Linked DNA regions of Homo sapiens: regions 1, 2, 3, 4, 5 and 7 are each linked to region 6. The links are contacts of gene promoters, found by promoter capture Hi-C in blood cells and fetal thymus (Javierre and others, 2016). All regions are on one chromosome and are shown on one strand. Each heading gives the region's core, a stretch centred on a gene start or on the middle of the fragment in contact. The rest is flanking DNA. Distances are from core to core; before and after follow the strand shown. Region 1 has its middle 27 kb from the start of MAPRE2. Region 2 overlaps DTNA (dystrobrevin alpha). Region 3 overlaps GALNT1 (polypeptide N-acetylgalactosaminyltransferase 1). Region 4 has its middle 46 kb from the start of MAPRE2. Region 5 has its middle 76 kb from the start of MAPRE2. Region 6 holds the start of ZSCAN30 (zinc finger and SCAN domain containing 30). Region 7 overlaps GALNT1 (polypeptide N-acetylgalactosaminyltransferase 1).

What was found. The method cuts DNA at HindIII sites, captures the fragments that hold promoters and counts their contacts. A CHiCAGO score of 5 or more calls a contact.
Region 1: a contact is called between a fragment that was not itself captured here and the fragment with the promoter of ZSCAN30 in region 6, in 3 of 17 cell types (naive CD8 T cells, total B cells and total CD4 T cells). The highest score is 6.6, in naive CD8 T cells.
Region 2: a contact is called between a fragment that was not itself captured here and the fragment with the promoter of ZSCAN30 in region 6, in 1 of 17 cell types (activated CD4 T cells). The highest score is 5.0, in activated CD4 T cells.
Region 3: a fragment that was not itself captured here is called in contact with the fragment with the promoter of ZSCAN30 in region 6 in 5 of 17 cell types (total B cells, erythroblasts, total CD8 T cells and 2 more); the score reaches 6.8 in total B cells.
Region 4: a fragment that was not itself captured here is called in contact with the fragment with the promoter of ZSCAN30 in region 6 in 8 of 17 cell types (activated CD4 T cells, fetal thymus, naive B cells and 5 more); the score reaches 7.3 in activated CD4 T cells.
Region 5: a fragment that was not itself captured here is called in contact with the fragment with the promoter of ZSCAN30 in region 6 in 2 of 17 cell types (activated CD4 T cells and fetal thymus); the score reaches 5.7 in activated CD4 T cells.
Region 7: a contact is called between a fragment that was not itself captured here and the fragment with the promoter of ZSCAN30 in region 6, in 3 of 17 cell types (total B cells, activated CD4 T cells and total CD8 T cells). The highest score is 6.2, in total B cells.

What each region holds. Positions count from the first base shown.
Region 1 is chr18:35,013,276-35,015,985 of GRCh38, forward strand. It overlaps a transcript of MAPRE2 not described here. Among named protein-coding and RNA genes, the nearest start is that of MAPRE2, 27 kb to the right of the region's middle. The HindIII fragment of the contact is 7,024 bases long and covers 1-2,710 here.
Region 2 is chr18:34,872,466-34,875,406 of GRCh38, forward strand. It overlaps DTNA (dystrobrevin alpha), which reads left to right. Exons shown (of 23, transcript NM_001386795.1): 18 at 2,774-2,933. Among named protein-coding and RNA genes, the nearest start is that of DTNA-AS1, 110 kb to the left of the region's middle. The HindIII fragment of the contact is 7,635 bases long and covers 1-2,941 here.
Region 3 is chr18:35,616,862-35,619,776 of GRCh38, forward strand. All of the region lies in intron 1 of GALNT1 (polypeptide N-acetylgalactosaminyltransferase 1), which reads left to right. Among named protein-coding and RNA genes, the nearest start is that of MIR3975, 27 kb to the left of the region's middle. The HindIII fragment of the contact is 489 bases long and covers 1,007-1,495 here.
Region 4 is chr18:34,993,941-34,996,660 of GRCh38, forward strand. It overlaps a transcript of MAPRE2 not described here. Among named protein-coding and RNA genes, the nearest start is that of MAPRE2, 46 kb to the right of the region's middle. The HindIII fragment of the contact is 2,386 bases long and covers 277-2,662 here.
Region 5 is chr18:34,964,096-34,966,795 of GRCh38, forward strand. No RefSeq gene overlaps it. Among named protein-coding and RNA genes, the nearest start is that of MAPRE2, 76 kb to the right of the region's middle. The HindIII fragment of the contact is 1,507 bases long and covers 664-2,170 here.
Region 6 is chr18:35,288,624-35,291,548 of GRCh38, forward strand. It overlaps ZSCAN30 (zinc finger and SCAN domain containing 30), which reads right to left and starts at 1,606. Exons shown (of 4, transcript NM_001112734.4): 1 at 1,461-1,606. It also overlaps the pseudogene ZNF271P. RefSeq lists an enhancer at 1,723-1,882. The HindIII fragment of the contact is 2,453 bases long and covers 50-2,502 here.
Region 7 is chr18:35,583,170-35,586,145 of GRCh38, forward strand. All of the region lies in intron 1 of GALNT1 (polypeptide N-acetylgalactosaminyltransferase 1), which reads left to right. Among named protein-coding and RNA genes, the nearest start is that of GALNT1, 2.9 kb to the left of the region's middle. The HindIII fragment of the contact is 2,443 bases long and covers 314-2,756 here.

The DNA.
Region 1 (2,710 bases), core at 3-2,502, 280 kb before region 6:
AGAGTTGATTTAAGGTAGAAGAGACCTGAGTGATTTAAACACTGCCTGGAGGCAGCCAGTGGACAAGGCATAGGAGAAACTGGTAGAAAGTTACAAACTAGAGCTTTTTAATTTTGTTAATTGACAAATAGTTCTTGTACATATTCATGGGGTACATAGTGATGTTTTGATATGTATAATGTAAGTAATTATATCAGGGTACTTAGCATATCCATCATGTAAAATATTTATAATTTCTTTCTGTTAGGAACATTTAATATTTTCATTCTAGCTATTTGAAACTATATGTTATTGTCAACAATAGTCAACCTACAATGGTATAGAACACTAGAACCTATCCCTCCTGTCTAGCTGTAATTTTGTATCCTTTAACAAATCTCTCCCTATCCTTTCCTTCCCCCAACCCTTCCCAGCCTCTAGTATCCTGTCTTCTACTTTTTACTTCTATGAAATCAACTTTTGTTTAGTAATAGCTTTCACGTATTAGTGAGAATATGCAGTGTTCAACTTTCTGCTCCTGGCTTATCTCACTTAATATAATGACCTCCAGTTCCATCCATGTTGCTGTGAAAGACCAGATTTTGTTCTTTTTCATGGCATTGTGTGTATATACTACATTTTCTTTATTCATTCATCTGTTATTGGACACCTAGTTTGATTTAATATCTTGACTATTGTAAACAATGCCACAATAAACATGGGGGTACAGATGTCTCTTTGACATAATGATTTACTTTCTGATTTAAATATACCAGGGCTTTGAAAAGGCAGGAGGCAAGAGGGGAGACCATAGCCCTTTATTGCAACAAGCAAGAATCCGAATAAGATGGCAATCCTTTAGGTAAATATGTAGGTTTGGGGACAGAAAAGTTAAATTCTGGTCTAATGGCTTCAATACCTTCTATAAAGTCAGATGCAAGGCCATCTGCTAAGGGAAGAGAAGGTGGTAGGGTCGGAGATATAAGGACACGGAAAAAGTATTGAAACATCTGGTTTATGAATAATGACGGAACCCAAACTAGGGAAACAGAAGGGTGATTTAGAAGCATTGAGATCCACTGGGTTTGGAGGCCATCAGTTTACAGTTGTGCTAGTCTCCCGGGCAGGGTGATTTTTTTTTTTTTTTTGGTCCCAGCAGGTCTCGGCAGTCTATATAAGGCATATATACCTGGCAGATAAAAATTGTATAAAAGCTCTTCTTTGGGGAAACGTGAAAATTGATCATGAGGGTGACACATTTATTTTTAAATGGACTAATGCTTTATTTCTTTCTCTTTACAATGTTGTAAGAGCCAAATGACTGGGTTAAGAGTTGCAAATTGTTTGGTTTATAATGAGTTTGTTATTGGTACAGAGATTGTAACTAACTCTCCAGGGCCCTCTGTTGACTACAGAGATTATTGGGGACCAACCTTAATTATCAATTGATCATTGATCAGAGTGAAACTTAGAACAACTTACTGAGCAGTTTGATGGTGTTACATCCCCCCTCACAAACTTGTATTCCCTTTTAAGGGTACTGTGGCCCCAGGGACAAGCACTGTGTTGCATATACAAATACATCTACACTATGCTTAGTGCACCTTTACCACGTTGTAAATCCATGGCATTGCCATAGATTTTTGCCTTTTGCATGGAGTACCAGGATCTAGTTAAGTAACAGTCATTTTTGCTAGCCAAAATGTCACTAAAATTACTCTGAGGTTGACATGTCTTATCAAAATTTTCTGTACAAGTAGGCTGTGGTATATGGAAAGAATGCTACTGCTGTCTCACAGGCCAATGCCTAGAATGCTTGTATATATTCAGACCCCTAAACAAGAAATGTGTTTCCTCTACCCCCCTTCACTTTCTGACTTTACTTTCCTGGCCAGAGAGTCACTAAGAATAACAAGTCCTGCCATCAACAAGTTGGTGATAGCCTAGGGATTCTGGTCCTGGTGAGGTTGAGTACAGGGGAAGGAGCAAGACCTGTAAACAGTCCACCAAGCCAAAGTGGATTCACCTTCATTTCCTAAACTGTGTAATACCTGAACACCAGACCCCTGTATATAGGGGAAAACATGTGGGAGAATAAACTTTATTTGATGCCTACGGTGTACCAGATACTCTGCTAGCAACTTATCCTCATATGTTCTACATGAAACTTCGTTGTTGCTTTTTACAAATGAGGAAATTGTTTCAGAGAGGTTACTGACTTGTTCAAGGCATATAGTTAGTAAGTGGTAGAGCCAAGATTAGGACCCAAGCGGGTGTGAATGCAAATTTGTTATCTACCCTAACGAATCACGTTTTATTTTCCTTCTAGTCCTCATTCACATAATTTTACACAGTTGGTGGGTGTGTATAGGGATGGCAGTGTGTGTGTGTGTGTGTGTGTGTGTGTGTGTGTGTGTGTGTGTGTATTTTTGCCTTTAAGCCCTGGTTGGGAAGAATTTTTTCCTTTCTACAGTTGTCAGATCATGAACAAAAATTCAGAACAAACCCCAATAAATTGCAGAAACACTAACTAAAATCAAATGCTACTTTTTACATTTCTACTTTTATTTTAGATTCTTGGGGTACACATGCAGTTTTATTACCTGGGTATATTGCACGATGCTGACGTTTTGGGTATAACTGATCCTGCCACTTGGGTACTAAGAAAAGTACCCAATAATTTTTCAACCCTTGCCCCCTTCCTTCTGCACTCTAGTAGTCCCCAGTTTCT
Region 2 (2,941 bases), core at 149-2,648, 420 kb before region 6:
TCCAGAATTTGGCATTTATCTGATTTTGAAAAGCAATATGATGCAGATATCGTATCAGTTACCTCACATCCATTAAGACCAAATTCATTATGGAATGACCAGTGTTTGTCAGAGCTTTTTTGGCTTTCAGAATTGCAAATAAGAGATTGTAGGCCTGTACTTCTGTACCAATTGATAAACAGTCCAAGGCCCTCCCATCACCCTGAGCACCCATACATCTTTTCCATGATCCAGCAACTAAAAGGTATTGCCTGGCCCAGTAGCAGGAAGCCCTAGGACGCTGCTCCAGCACCACAAGGTGGTCCTACTGGGTCTGTGCCCTGTGTCTTTTCCCTCTTCAGGCTGCTGAACCTTTCTATAGTAGTGAAGCATAGATGGAAGCGTATGATGGCTGGTCACAGTGCCCACAGTCCTTAGACTCAGCATGGCAAACCCTGAGCTTGGAGTCTAAAGACTGGGGATCAATTTTATCTCTGCCATTCTCTTGCTCAGAAACCTTGGGTAATCCAGTTATCTCCTCTTAGCCTCAGTTTGCTAATATATAAAATGGGAATAATAATACTTCATATGGTTATTAAGAGGATTACATGAAGTATTAGGGGTTAAAGTGCTTTATGGACTGCAAATTGCTATTCAAATATAAGATATTACCACTTGTACCACTGTACTAGGAAAATGAAACAAAACAGTGTATGTAAAAGTGCTTTGTACATTGAATTACTTACAAAAGTGGAGTTATATTATTATTGTGAACTTCTCACCATGGAAGACAATCTGAGTTCCCAGGGATGAGACGGTAACCCACACTGATAGCCAAGAGAATCCTACTTCTTAATAACCACTCTGTCCAACTTCCCTTCTCTAGTCCCCACTCCCGGCTGTGTTTGGTCCCTTGATAAAGAGGACAGAGACAAGAGGCTCAGGAGCCTTGCTAAGGCCTCTGCCTTAAAAAGGGTGTACAAGAGGAATTGCCAAAGTAGGAAGAGCTCAGGGCATCTGACCAGCGTCTGTCTCCATTGAGGGACTTTTTGCCAGCCATGGCCAGCAAGGCTCCCGCAGCCCAGGGCACTCAGAGCCCCTGGGCTCAGCCCCAGCCCTGCCCCTCTGACTCCGTCTCCAGATAAAGCAATTATTTTCACCTCTCTGAGTACTGGGCTCCACAACTTCACATTTAGAGTAAGAATGCATACTTCCCAGGGTCATGGAGAGAAATCAGTGAGAGTGTATGTGAAAACCCTTTGAACATCATAAGGCACAACGCAAATGTGAAATTATTTATTATTGGCATGGGAAGGTCAAGGATGCAGTGGTAGCTCAGAAGCAGAAGGTTTCAAGGTAATGGGGCTGAGCTGCCAGAGTTTGCTGGGGAAAACTAGACCCCTCCTTGAGCAGGCCGAGGGAAGCAGGCTGCAAAAACATCACAACCGGGCAAAGTTCTCTTCCTTGGGCCTGGACAGACCATTACAAGGTACTGTTGAGAGTGAAAGAATGGGACCCTCAGCCCATTGGGCACCCCATGGGTTATTTTCTGTGCTCTGTTCTGTTTTGCTTCATTTTTAATTCTGGGTTTTTCTCAGTTTATGGCTTTAACAATTATGCGTGATGCTGAGCCTGGAGAGCTAACAGCATGGCATTTTTCAGGATTGATGTGGTGTGTTTTAACCACAAGCCACTGAGCCCAAAGCAAATATCTAAATGGAATATTCCAGAGCATTGCTCTGGTGGTATACATCTAGGAGTTTGAATGGGTTAATGATGACTCTCTGGGCCTTGCTGGAGAAGAATTCTCACTCTAGCAACCACAGCAAACAGACTGGGATGGAATTGATGTGAACACCTAATCTGTTGTGTATGCACTCAAGGGTCTCCTTGCATTTTCTTACGCATGTGGCTGACTTCTTTTGTCAACTAATTATTAAAACAGGGAGAATATTTCCAAGGCACCTCATTTAGAGACAAATCCTTAAGATTCAAAGTGTGACAGTCTCAGAATAGTTTCATGCCAAAAACTGTAGTGCAAAGATAAGTTCCTTCAGTTGTTTTCTACTTTTTTCTTTACTTGTCTTTAAATCCTACTATTCTTATTGTCCTGCTAGAATACTGCTTTTTCATAGGAGAAGAGAAGGACATTTCCTGCAGGAAATAATACCAAAAAATTAGAAAACAAGGTTTCTTCTTCTTCTTCTTCCCCATTGGAATCCCTGAGTTACTAATTTGACAAAATCAGCTTTTACTATAAAATAGGGATAAAACAATTTACACTTCATTTGATTCTTAATTTGAGACTTAATATGCACAATATTGTATGACATGATTTAAACTCTTATCCTCTAAAGATAATGCTAGTACAGTCAGGTTGAAAATTCAGAAAGCATCCATTGCAAATAGTCTTCTAGTTTGTATTTTAAACTTTCTCCTTAATGTCTTCTTAGTCCTCGGAGACCTTCCTTCAAGGAGAAAGTATCCACACCTTGTAATTATCTGCATTTAACAGTACCTTCATTTTATGGGCACATGTCCCATATACTGTAGAGCAATGCTGTACTAATAGTTTTAGCTTTCAATATTTAACCCAAACTTCAGATTACATACAATAAGGTCCTAAATTATCTGCACCTGCAAATTAGCTTTAGGATTACCAACACAATTACCTAGGATTTCCTCCTGCTTTGAAATTTCATTGTCACTGTTTTCAACAATCAACTGAGGCATTGGGGATGACATATGACATTTTCTTGGGAAAGCAAATTAATGACCTGCATTGTCTCTCCAGACTCAGGGGGCAGGCTCTCCCCGCTCCTCCCCCAGCCACACCATCAGCAGGCCAATTCCCATGCCCATCCGGTCAGCGTCAGCCTGCTCCACCCCGACGCACACGCCGCAGGACTCCCTCACAGGAGTAGGGGGAGATGTACAAGAGGCATTTGCACAAAGTAAGTGG
Region 3 (2,915 bases), core at 1-2,500, 330 kb after region 6:
CTTCAGCTTCCTCAGCTGAAAATGAAGATAAAACCCACTTGAAAGGGTTGTTATTAGGATAAAATTCTCTCTCTAATGCCTAAGCCACTGAGGAACCCTGTAACCATAGATCCTGACTCATTTATGCCAGAGTGAGGTGTGGTATGAAAACAAACAAAACTTTATGAGTAGTTCCTTCCCCATTTGAGCAGCAGTGACGGGTGAATGTAATGCAAGCGGCGCATTGCAGGCATTCAGACAGCTCCCCCCTCCATTTCCTGTCTGTGGCTACTGTTCTCTAGACTCTTCTCTCACACCACCAAGAATCATTTATTACAGGTATTTATATTGACCATTTCCTCCCTAAGGACAGTGATGTTGTCTAACTCATCTTTGTTCTCATATGGTCTGGTAAAATGCTTGGCATATAGTAGGGCAGTTAACAAATTTGTTAAGTGAACAAATGTCTACTATATGCCTTGCTTTTGTTCACAGAACACCAGTGTATGCAGTATTTGGCCTGCCAAAGTAAGATGTTAAATCCAAAGTAAGATGTTAAATCCTAATTTAGCGTTTAGCTATCTGAAACACGTTTAAAAGTTACTTCTTTGTTTTAACATCATATTTCGAGAAATTCTAACATATATAAAAGTAGACAGAACAGTGAAACGAGCCCTCTTAAACCTGTATCCATTCTCCAGATTCAGCAAACACATTTTCCCACTTGTGTTCCACCTCTCAATCTAACCTCACTCCCCTGCTCTTAAGCCCAAGTATTTTAAAGCAATGGAAGACATCATGTCATTTTACCTCTAACATTCTTCAGTATAGATCCTTTAAAATGAGAACATTTTGAATATGACCACAATGCTGTTAACATTCCTAATTAACAGTGATTGCTTAGTAGCATCTGTAACCCAGTTCATAATCATATTTCCTCAGTGGTCCCTAAAGTGTCTTTTTAAGTTGATTTGTAGATTCAAAACTCAAAACAAGATCAACATAGCACATTTAGTTTTTTTAAAAAAGCTTTCCTTAAAAAAATAAAAACAATACCTATTTTAAAAATTATTTCTCTCCCTTTCTCTTCTTCTTTTCTTTTCGATAACTCTTCAGATTAGGGTTCTTTATAATGAAACCATAAACTTTGCTCTAGCAGATAAAGGTTTCATCTTTTAAGACTGCTTTGCTGTTCTTTTTTTTTTTTTTTGATAGCCAAGCACTTAACATGTATAGAGAGCACTACTGCAGTTAACAGCACAGCAAAATGCAAAACTGTTAACTGCTCTGATTTTTCTTGTGCAATGAGATAGCATTATGTGCAGTACCATTAGGAAAATAATTTTACATCATTTTCATTCATAATTAACATTATTTACATTAAATGTAGTCTAAACCTGTAAAATAATCTTGTATTCATTAAAAAGTATATATTCTTTGGTATGTTTAGTTTAAATACATCTTTAAAAAATTTTAGTTATTCCTCTTGAATTTATGGTTAGGGTCTCAAGAAGGAAGCTTGAGACTAGACTGTAATGTGTGTTTGAAAAAGACTGCTCATGGATGAACTTAATTCTTAAATTCTCTAAAGCTCAAGTGGAGAAATGACATCTGCAAAAAATTTATCTTTTAGTTGCATTATGGGTAATAAAGACAAACATGTGTAACTGTTTAGTGTATTTAAAAGAAAAGGAGAGATAACCCAAGTGATTAGAGGTTTTAGTAGAATAGTTTTGAGAATTAGAATTTTAAAAAATAATACAAAAGAAATGTTTGAGTTATTGATGTGAATTAAATAGCAGGTTTATTTCAGAGTTTTTTTTTTCCAACAATTTACTTAACTTTCCTATTACATTGTTAAGTAAAATGTCAACTTAATTGTACTGCACTGTTTTTGTTTGTTTGTTTGTTCTGAGAGCAGGAAGCAAATCCTATAATCAGCCCTCCAAAGAGCTGAAACAAATATGAAGAAAAGGCGCTTGAGGTCATCCCCTAGAATGGATCTTAACTGATAGCAATGCAGAAGCAGCCTGAGACTACAGGGCAGACCGAGTTGAGGGAGGGAGGCAGAGAATAGCTTTTCACAGGAAAATCAGCAGGCAAGAATGCAAAACAATCACTAACGCTATAAACTAAGAGACGTTAAATGACATTAGGGAGAGACTAGTAAGAGAGAAACCAAGTTAGAAAACACAGCAACTTAAAAACCGATATGCCAAATTACTGATTAGTTAAGGAAAAAAGGAAGGGTATGGTTGTTTTGCAGTGTGTGGTACCTGCGATAAATCTGTAAGGTAGAATTTGTGACTAACCAGAACACTGTCTTTCTGTAACATGCTAATATATGTTTTGTTTTGTTTTTTCAATGGTAACTAAATATTTCAGGCTATTATTAGGGCCAAAAATCTAAAATCTACCCCTAACTCAAGTTTTGGTTTTTATTTGTTCTGTTGAGCAAATCTGAAAACTTTTTAGATCTCAAAAGGTCGCTTAAGTTAGTAACCTAGTAACATCAGACAGTGTATTAAGGAAAGCAATTCTCAAAAGAACCTTCATGCTTACAAATGTAAAAAAAAGAATTTCATCTAAGGGTACTACTGTCCTTTGAGATTTTTTTTCTTCTTTTTCTCCTCACAGATGATCCAGTTATACAGGAGGAAAAGTATGGCACTGAGCTCTGGGGAATGCATGGAAAAAAAAATTGGGAAAAGGGAGTGACAACAGAGATTTCCATTTAGTCTGCAAATTGTTTTTGGTCTTTCTCATCCATAGTCCAGCGCCAAGAGACTGTGGGATCATACAGTCTTGTTTGTGATCCAAACTGGCAGTGGCAGTACTGATGACAACAGTGTAGTAACTGTCTGCGCTCAGTAGTGTCGTTGGCAAGCTTCTAGTGAATTCTTTATCCACTCTGGTGGGCCACCTCATAGAGTATA
Region 4 (2,720 bases), core at 220-2,719, 290 kb before region 6:
ATGATCTCATTTAATGCCATTTTATAGAGGAAAAACTGAGGCATGGATTTTCTTTTTTTTTTTTTTTTTTTTTACTGAAACCACTAGTAATTGCAAAGTTTTAAATGTTTATAGCACATCATTTGCTTTTGACATTGCTTTGCAGATCATCTGAGCTGCTTCCTGGCTCTCCAGTACATTGTACTAACTGGGAGGATGGGGAGACATTTGCTGTCCCCATGGGGAATGAAAAAGGAAACCATGTGGGATGGGGAGGGGCAAGAAAGAAGAAAAACAAGCTTCTCTAGGCTCCAAAAAATTTGAAGGAAATAAAGATATTAAGCACTTGTTAGATGAAGTGATAGCTACAAAACACGTAATCTGTACAACAATCTTATGAGCACTATTCAACATTAAGCTAACAGAAGAAGTCTCAGTTGTGGTCAAAAAATAGTTTTGTTTTTTGGCTTCTGTTTTTTGCTTTTTTTTTTCTTTTCCTAGGCTGCCAACCTTAGAGAAATGATGGTCAAACTGGGGCTGCCAAGGTCATGTATTACAGAAGAGGCAGCAAAAAAGGCCTTGGCAGGGCCAGAAAGGCCAGAGAAGGTCCTGTTCCAAGGATTTCTTGGGGCCCTTTTCATCGAGGCCGCATCCACATGATCCCTGAAGATAGGTATTCCCTCCCATTCTGTTTAAGCTGTTAGTTTTCCCTAGATTTAATTCTATTGTAATATTTTATATCCCTATAATCAGGAGATATTTTCAAATTCAATAATAATAATGATAAATTTAATAAGTATTTTCCATGTACATAGAAATTTATAGTTGCTAAAGAATTTTTATATGTAACAGCAGCTCTTTAAGGAGCTGTACTTTACAGAAAACTGTAAAAACTGGGTCCCAGAGTTTAAGTGGCATGCCCAAAGTCACATAATTGGGAAAACCTCAAACCCAGGGGATGATACCCCAAGTCCCAATGCTCTTTATACCAGGCAGCTTTACAAATGATAGTTGAATTCTCAGGGTAGCCCTCAAAGATCCCTTTAACCCATAAAAGTATTAACTTATACCAGTATGTTAACCTCTAACCAACTCATATTTCCATAGAAACATGCATTGGGTTTTAAAAACTTAGGTAAATACATTTTCTGGACACATCTCCCTGTAGGTGAGGACTCCTGATATTCTAGCATCAGTGGGCGCTTCTTTTCCCTCAGTTTGAAAATGCAAGTGCACCAAGAGAGGAATGTTATTATAAAGTATGGGCAATCTCAAATTCATTTTGAGCCTGACACTTTTAGGCAGAATAATGGTCCCAGTATGGTATACAGTTGTGGAATCAAGTAATGCAGTTTTTAAGTTTTTTAGCTCATTGTTTGCTAGTCACAGAATTTGGCAGGACTTCCAAGCATCTTCCTATCTCTCAAGCACACTGGATATATGTGTGGCAGCTTCATCTGATCCAATTGCCTACACAAGAAAATAACAGTGGCTTCACTGAGGGTGCTCATGTAACAAGATCCAGAGACAGCCATTTGAGTCAGCAGAGGAAAAAATAACAAATTTTTGTTAAAACACTCTCTAATGCATTTGCACAAACTAGTTAATCAATTAAATACATATCATCTTCAAAAGGGGAGAACTTCCCTAAGAACCTGGAACTCTGGGTGAGTATGTTACCACTGGGGGCTAGGAATAATTGCAGGAAGGAGGAGCAAGAAAAAAGTGGTGTGCACCAAGGATGGACTTCACATCCTTAGTTTTGCTTGCTTGGGGGTAAGGTCTAAGCTATATGTTTGTGTCCATTGTTTGGTAGTAAGGTCTAAGCTATACATTAGTTTATCTCAGTTGGGATCATGTGAGTGAATGGCTCCTTTACCAAGCGCATGTTAATCTGTCACCATAGCAGATTCTAGAAAGAGCCTGAAGCACAGAGAGTGTGTGTGTGTGCCTTGCAACTCAAGGTGTGGTCTTTAGACCAGCAGCATCACCTAGAAGATTTTAGAAAGGCGGATTCTCACACCCCTCAACGGCTAGACGTACTGAATCATAACCTGCATTGTAACAAAATTCCCAGGTGATTCATAAAGTCAGGAAAGCGCTGTCACAGATGAACCTGATAGTTAAAATGCTTGTTTTCCTCTAATTTTCAGAATGAGAAAAACAAATGATCTTCAAACTCTATATGCTCCCCAAGAAAACAGCAGTCAGGAATTTTTCCACCCCTGCTGTCAATATCATTGCCTTCACAGCCCTGTGATATGATTATTTTGTGTTTATTACCTCGGCGGTCCTAAACCTTTTTGGCACCAGGGACCAGTTTTGTGGAAGACAATTTTTCCATAGACTGGGGGTAGGGTGGAGGATGAGGGATGGTTTCGGGATGAAACTGTTCCACCTCAGATCATCAAGCATTAGATTTTCATAAGCAGCGGGCAACCTAGATCCCTCATGTGCACGGTTCACAATAGTGTTCGCACTCCTATGAGAATCTAATGCTGCAGCTGATCTGACAGGAGGCAGAGCTTAAGTGGTTACCCAACTAGACTTAAGTCCTGGGTGGCTGTTCTGTGTCTTGTTCACCCTTAGAATCCCAGCACCCAACATGGTACCTGGAATCTAATAGGTGTGTATGGTGGTACTCAAGAGTCCCAGCTTCAAAGTACAACAAACATGGGTTGGAAGCTTCAGTTCATACATCTATGAGATGGGATAAAGAATAACACCTCTTATAGGGTTAT
Region 5 (2,700 bases), core at 167-2,666, 320 kb before region 6:
ACCTCAGGCGATTCACCCGCCTCGGCCTCCCAAAGTGTTGGGATTACAGGCGTGAGCCACTGCACCCGGCCTCTAAGTAAAAATTGTAATATTCATCTGCTAAGGTCATCTAAGTCATCTCAGTTCACCTGAATTGTAACCGTTTTTAGGAAAGTGAAAATGTACATGAAATGTATAGGGACCGAACAGGGAAAACTGAAAAATTTTCTTATTACTAAAAAAAAAGAATGTAAAAATGAATGCTTGAAAAGTGTGATGGTTAATTTTACTAGTCAACTTGGCTAGGCAGTGGTGCCCAGTTGTTTGGCGTCAGCACCACAGGCCAAACACACACACACACACACATACACACAACTACATATACAAAGAGAGAGACTGATTTATTTTTGACACACAAAAGCCAATAAAAATGTCTACTAAAACTTTGGGAGGCCAAGGCAGGTGGATCACCTGAGGTCAGGAGTTCGAGACCAGCCTGGCCAACATGGCAAAACCCTGTCTCTACAAAAATACAAAAATTATCTGGGCGTGATGGTGCGTGCCTGTAGTCCCAGCTACTCGGGAGGCTGAGGCAGGAGAATCGCTTGAACCCAGGAGGTGGGGGTTGCGGTAAGCCGAGATCGTGAGATTGTGACACTGCACTCCAGCCTGGGAGACACAGTAAGCTTCCGTAAAAAAAAAAAAAAAAAGGGAAAAGTATAAAAAGAAAAAAATAGAAATCCCCTATAATCAGGAATATCACCATTTTAAAATGTTTTATTCAACTTTATCTATTTACTTACTTTTACATGTATGAAAACATATGGGAACTTACTTTACTCAAATGACATCACACTGCATATATCAGATTCAAAACCTTGGAATCTTGTTTTTGTCCCGTAATATATTAAAGTGATCATTTTTCCATGCCCCTAAGTATCTTTAACGTAAATACCTAAATATATTTAACTGCTGATTTTTTTCAGCAGCTACCAAATAATCCATCACATAACTGAACTACAATCTGTTTAACTAGTTGACTGTTTCTGGGCTTTTTGATGATTTCTTTTTCTTTAACTACACAGTGCTCTCTCCTGATTTGAAAAAGCCAGTCAGACACTGTTTCTGGAATCTGAGGTTTCTAGAAGCCAGGATCAAAAGTGTCGCACTTGGTTCCACTTCATGCAAGCTAGAGCTCATTATGAATAAAAGAGCATGTTGCTAACTTGGCCTTTAGCCAGAGTCTGACCTGGCATCAAAACATATCACTGTTCTGGAGATAATCACAAAGATCTGCAACCATCATAAAGGTTTCTGTGGCAGTGACATGGACTCCTGATCCCTGTTCCTATGTTGTCATTGCTATTATAAACATGCATTTGTATTAAACTAACATAGTAATGTTTGTGACTTGTCTAAAATTTGTTTAATCTTGTAAGATTCTTGTAAGAAAGAAAATCAACAAAGAAAATAAAAGGAAAGGAGGAGTTATGAATATACCTGTTTGGTATCTCAGTAAGAACATATTTTGTATTCTATATTTACTCATACTCCCAGTTATGAGACAAAACTAAATGTGTGCTTGTGAGTGATGAACAGAATGGATGTTCTTGGAGAACAAAGGAAACACATGGTAGCATGTGAGTGTTCCTCCAAAGCACAGTTGATTTGGGAGTTTCAGGGCCCAACTCTCCCATCACTGCAGATATTGTTCTCTATCCATTATCCTCATTTACAGAAATCCTGATCCATATCCCCAGAGCCAACATACAGCTCACAGCAGCTAGATTTCTCTGAGACAATTAAGTGGCTTTTTTCCCAGTTGCTCTTCCCAGAATTTAGACGGGAGAAAAACATTTTGTGAAATGTTAATACTCTAATGGCAAGAATTAATTTGTGGATGTGGTTAAATGCTATCTTAGCAACGCCTTGAAATGTAGCGTATGATTAGCACTTCACCGGTACAGATATTCATTGCCTTTAAGAAATTCATTTTAATGTCTCTTGTTCTATTATTGTTATGTACTGCATTTTATGCCTTCCTTTTAAATCTTATTTTCCATATTCTAAAGAAAACTCTTTCTTACGAATGATGCATTTTACTTTTCAGACTAATCTTAACTTTCCTACCTCTTGTTTGGAGACTCATATAAGATGTTTATTGTCTTCAGGATGTCTGTTAGCTAAAAGAAGCTTAGAAGGACATTTTCTCCTACATGCTGAATGACTGAAACTTGAATGTGTGAAAGTTACTATCTTACAATAAATTTATGTTACATAGTGTTTCTAAAAAACAGAGTCACTAAATTACGGAGAAATAATACAACGTGGTAAAGATGATTTGGATTAAAACAACAGGAAAAAAATTCAAATCAGGATATATTTATGAATCTATTCTTTTATTTATTTATGTATTCATTTGTTCATTCAAAAGTATTTAATTATCATCTGTCATATCTCAGACACAGTTCTACGCCCTGGAGACAGACCAGTAAACTAAAAGACAAAAATTCTTGTCATCTTGGGCCCCATATTCTAGTGGAGAAAGAGACATTCCTACACTAAAATAAATTCCAATTTTATAAGGAAATCACAGCATAAGTGCTGGAAATTTTAAATAATAAAATGCCACAAAACATAAGAAAATTCCAAATTTAAATAAATATATATTTGGCATAAAACCATATTTATGAGATAAATATTAGAAATAAAATTGTATGA
Region 6 (2,925 bases), core at 356-2,855:
AAAATTAACTATTGATACACACAGCAATAAAGATAAATCTCAAAATAAAAGCTTAGTGAAACAACTCTGACAAAAACAAGGACATTCTGTATGATTCCATTTAAATAAATATCTAGAAAATGCAAACTAATCTCTAGTAACAGCTGACCAGTGGAGGGGGCATTGGGAGAGAGGCTTACCAACGGGCAGGAGGAAACTTTTGGGGTTTAGATGTAATAAACATATTATTTTGATTGCAGTGATAGTTCCACAGCTGTATTCATTTAACAAGCCTTATCAAATTATATCCTTTAAATATTTGCTGTTTATGTCAGTTATACCTCAATAAAGCTGTTTTGTTTTGTTTTGTTTTGTTTTGTTTTGAGACAAAGTCTCGCTTTGTCACCCAGGCTGGAGTGCAGTGGCGCAATCTCGGCTCACTGCAACCTCCGCCTCCTGGGTTCATGGGTTCACGCGATTCTCCTGACTCGGCCTCCCAAGTAGCTGGGATTAAAGGCGCACACCACCATGCCCAGCTAATTTTTGTATTTGTAGTAGAGACAGGGTTTCACCTTGTTGGCCAGGCTGGTCTCCAACTCCTGATCTCAGGTGATCCACCTGCCTCAACCTCCCAAAGTTTTAGGATTACAGGCCTAAGCTGCGCCTGGCCAAAAAGAAAGCTGTTTTTTTAAAACTATCTGCACTCCCTACTTGGGAGGGTTGGACTCAAGTTCCCACATCTCTTTCCTCTTACGGTTATATTAAGGGCTTAGTCATACATCCCTAAATTTCATATATCCCAACAGGGACTTGGGCTGGGACAGGAAGCCCTCTTCCTCCACCTCAACTACCACTTAGCCACCCACCATTTTCTCAAACCTCTTCCTTTCCCCACCGGACAGCTTAAACCAAGTCACACGTCTCATTGGTCTCAACAGAAATGAGGTCCCAACTCCTCATTTCCCAAGATATTTCCATGAACACAGCAATATCCTTTCCTACCCTGATTACCCCGCACCCTCCATTTCGGGTCCTTCTCACCCTGATCAGTGAGAATTGTTCTAGCAAGCAAACCTTAAATAGACCTCGTACCCTTTCTAGATTGCAAAGTAGATAAAAATCCAACTTTCCGTTAATTCAGGGATTAATTACTGAGCATCACTTATTTCTTGGGCAGTGGTTCTCAAAATGTGGTCCCAGGACCAACAGCTTCAGGATCACCTGAGAACCTGGGCTGCCACCGCCCCCTCCCCCACTACTAAATCAGCAACTCCGGAGTTGTGGGGCAGAAGTCAGTATTTTAACAAGGCCTCCAGGTGATTCTGATGCGCGCTACTCTTCTGGGGGTGTGAAAAACCAGAGAGGACAGGAAGAAAGTTAGAATTAAAGCATACCTACGAATCAGATAAGCGATAGGGGGAGGGGTGGTTATTTAAAAAACGATAACTAATTAAGAACTTGTATGTAGTAAGAAAACCTACCCTGCCCCAGAGAGCTTTCCCGAAAGATAATGGATTCCGACATTCACCTCAAGAACCGGCAGACAGAGCAGCAAAGGATCTGTCGCTGGCCAAGCAGGTCCCTGGCTAAGGCACTGCTAGGGACAGCTCGCGGCGGTTCGGGGGTTAATTCTCGGCAGCCCTCCGTCACCCGGTGCCCCACCCCCGCCCTGCGCCTGCGCGGTGAAGCGCCATAGAGCTGAGCACTCCTCCCAGATTCCTAGAGCGGACAGGGCGATGGCAGGTTCGCCGGGTGTGAGGCTTCACAGCGGTCCGGTGACCAAGTCGAGGTAAGGGTGATGTCGGCTCGCGGATAGCAGAGGAGTTCCGGGTGATCTTGCCTAACGAGCAGGAAACTGTGCATGGTTTCTCGAGTCCTTGGAGAGTGAAGGCCCCCGGGGTCGCTCCCGGGCACGGAGAGACGATTGGTTCACGGCCTAGTGTTCGGTTTGTTCCCAGTCAGCCCTTGCTGGCCTTGGGTTCAACCGAATGAACGCCAGAAACTCTGTGGGGTGGGGGGAGTCACCAACCGTGGTGCATCCATACGAATCAGCCTACCGTACTGGGAAAGAGCCACCTGAATTTGTGAATGTTGTAAAAGCAAAAGGAAGAAAAATGATCAGTAGTGTCATTTTTGGATAGGAAGGGCAGCGAATAACATAGTGTTAACCACTAGAATTCACTGTAAAATTCCCCTCTCTGCGTTATCTTTCCAGTTATACCTTTTTTTGGTAGCATTAACCCCTAATTTTGTTTGAACATCTCTAGACTTGGAATGGGGAATGTGTGTCTTAAGTGGGTTAATCCCTGGCTCTTGGATGATGGGGAGGAAGCCTAATACATTCTGAGAGAAAAGCAACTGGAAGTCAAATGAGATTTTTTGTTTTCTCCTTCTTTTATATCTTGAGGATTTTTCTGGTGGTCTAGTCTCAGAGATTACATCTGTAGTCAGCACAATGATTCCCTTCCAAGCCCAGTGGTGCCCAGTTGCCTCCAGGTCCCAGACCTTTATGTGGACAAGAAAAGCTTACAGAGGAAATGGTAATTCTCCACTTGCACACTGAGGTGTCCAGTTGCAGCCCATGGAGATCCAGTTCAATTATGAATCTCAGGAACACCACCTTCTGTCAGGTGAGAGGCAGGGTATTATATCTTTCTTAGTGGCTTTGGCGGGGTGGGGAGGATGAGGGGGTGTCACTCTATGCTAGTGTCTTCAAATGATCCCCCTTAACTCTGTTAGGCAGTATTACCTCTTTAGTGTACCAAGCATAGTCACATGACTTTATTTCAAAATCTGGCGATCAAATTCTCATGCAGCTCTCTCCACTTTTTTAAGACCCCAAAGTCATTCATTTTTCCCTGTATAATGACCTCATTGCTAATCTGTCAGTTTTGGTCATTTTTCTTATCTACTGTAGGGGCATAGTTAAAAGTTCTGGAGTCTGAC
Region 7 (2,976 bases), core at 285-2,784, 290 kb after region 6:
ACTCCGAGTCCTGCTATTCCAAGTGTGGATGGTGTACCAGCAGCATCCCTGTCACCTCAGACTCAAGTAATGCAGAATGTGAAGCCCCGCTGCACATCAACTGAATCAGTATCTGCTTTACCAGGATTTCAAGTTATTTGTGTGCACTTTGAAACCTGAGAAGCCTTTGTTCAGCGTGCTGGTGATAACTGCGTTTAATGACTGCTCTGCTGGTTTGTTTGGTGCCTCTTAAGCAGCAGACTGCAAAACTCTTGGGAGCACTCACCATTTATGCAAATACTTGTTAAATGCCTGGCTTTCTCAATAGAGTTTAAGCTTTATGAGAGCAGAGATTGTGGCTTCCTTTTCCAGCCATGTATCACTGAAGACTTTACAGTGCCTGGTAAGCAATAAGCACTTGGTATAAATGCTTGTTGGATAAACGAATGAGTGTGCTAGGATACTTAAGCGTGGTTGTTAGCTGGGTGTGGTGGCATGCGTCTGTAGTCCTAGCTATTCCAGAGTGACAGCGCGAGACCCTGTCTCAAAAAACTGAAAACCCAACAACAACAAAACTGATTGTTAATCCCAAGCAGTTACAGGCAAGGTAATTCTCATGACATCAGGTGAGAGAGCATGGGACCAGAGTCAAAATGAAGATAGATCTGTTTGTAACTTTCAGTGGGACGCTCCAGCTACTCTGACTGGAGTTTTGCTCCTGGCTCACTTGCATGCCCTATCCCTCTTTTAACTAATATAATAATAATTTTGAATCTGAATCACACATTAGTGCTTCATATAGTTTTTAAAAAATTTTGTATTTTTTTAGGTAGCTAAATTCCAGACATTATTTGGATTTCACCAGTTTTTCCGTTAATATCTTCTTTCTGTTCCAGAATCCAGTCCAGTGTACTACATTGTATTTTGACATCATGTTTCTTTAATATTTGGTTTGTGATAGTTTCTGTCTTGTCTGGTTTTCCATAACTTTGGTAGTTTTGAGGAATACTGTCCTGGCTTTCTTTGATGGACAGCTTTCCATACTCATTCTCATGAAAGGTCACAATCAGGTTGACGCTGTTTCTGCTTTTACTTATTTATTTATGTAATACATCTGTCATGCTTATGTAACATACAACTTTGGTACTTTTTTTTCAGTAACAGATTTCTTGGATACAGTTCCTAATTGGTTGAGATGCAGAAGAGTGTTATACCATTGCAGTTATATACCAAGTTTTATTTTTTGATGGGTTAAGAGCTGGGCTGAGGTAGAGGAGGAAGGAAAGAGGAGAGATCAGTTAAAAGAGGCAGTTAGGCAAAGAGGGACCAAGGCAAAGGGAGTGACAGATAATGGAGGAAGAGGAGTGCGGCAACTTCGTAGAAGAGAGTTAGGAGTGACTACTTACTGTTTGTTCATTTATTCAATTAATATTTATTGACTCAGCAGTCCCAGTCTCTCTGGCACCAGGGACCAGTTTTGTGGAAGACAGTTTTTCCGTGGACCAGGTTGGGGGCCAGGGGAATGGTTTCGGGATGAAACCGTTACACCTCAGATCATCAGGCATTAGATTCTCATAAGTCTTGTGCAACCTAGATCCCTCATATGTAAAATTCACAGTAGTGTTTGCCCTATGAGAATTTAATGCCGCTGGTGATCTGACCGGAAGGAGGTGGAGCTCAGGCAGTAATGCTCGCTTGCCCACTGCTCACCTCCTGCTGTGTGGCCAGGTTTCTAACAGGCCACAGACTGGTACTGGTTCATGGCTTGGGGGTTGGGGACCCCTGTATGGAGCGATTAATGTGTGCCACACCCAGTGCTGTAGTCTCAAGATAACTGGGGGTGGATAGCATTAAATAAACATGCAAATAAGTACATAAATACAATTTGTGATTATTGCTACACATTAGCAGTAAAGGATGCTGGAGAGATTGTAGGTGGGGGAACTTCAGGTTGGCTGGGTTGGGGAGGACGGCTTCTCTGGGTATGTAACATTTAAACTCCTGCACCTGACTTTTGGGGACCCTTCAGAGTTACCCTCCACATTTCTTATCCCATTTTTATGTTATTTCACAACCCCCGACACATGCCTCTTTCTTCATAGGCACTTTGCTTATTTCTGGCTCTGTACCTTTTTATGTGATTTCTTCTCCTTCCCAAGATGTCCCCTTCTCCACCTCCACTTGTGGAAGTGCTACCTGTTTTTCATAGATTTGCTCAAGGTCTTTCTCCTTGATGAAGTTATTCACTGTTGATTTATGCCTCTTGAGTGTATGGTGTTTAAGGGTAGGGATAACAGTTTACATTTATATCTGTGTGTCCTCATTTAGTCCTCAGTTACCTGGTTGCTTCCAATGGTATCATTTTGTAAAGCTATAGTACAATTTCCAGACCTGTAATAGTCACATTGAAACAGTCAAGATAGAGAAAATTTTCATGGCCACAAGATTTCCTTATGTTTTTTTGTAGCCACACCTACTACCCTTCTACCTCCACCCCCTCCTTAAACTCTGACAATTACTAATTTGTTCATTTCTGTAATTTTGCCATTTTAAGAATGTTTTATAAATGGGATAAGTGTCTTTTGGAATTGGCTTTATTCACTCAGCATAATTCTCTGGAGATTGATCCAGGTTGTTGCATGTATCAGTAATTACTCCCTTTTCATTGCTAAGTAATATTCCATAGTATGAATGTACTTTTACGGATCTTTTAACCATTTACCTGTTGAACATCTGGTTGTTTCTAGTTTTTGGCTATTGTGAATAAAGCTGCTGTAAGCTTTTGTGTATAGGTTTTTGTGTGAACAGAGTCTTTATTTCTCTGGGATATATGCCCAGGAGTACACTTACTGGGTTGTGTGGCAGTTGCATGTTTAGTTTTTTAAAAAACTGGTGAGCTGTTTTGTAAAATGTTCTAGCATGGCTGGAACATCCCAAAGTGCCGGGATTACAGGCATGAGGCACCACGCCTGGCCTGTCACCATTTAGCCATTCTGA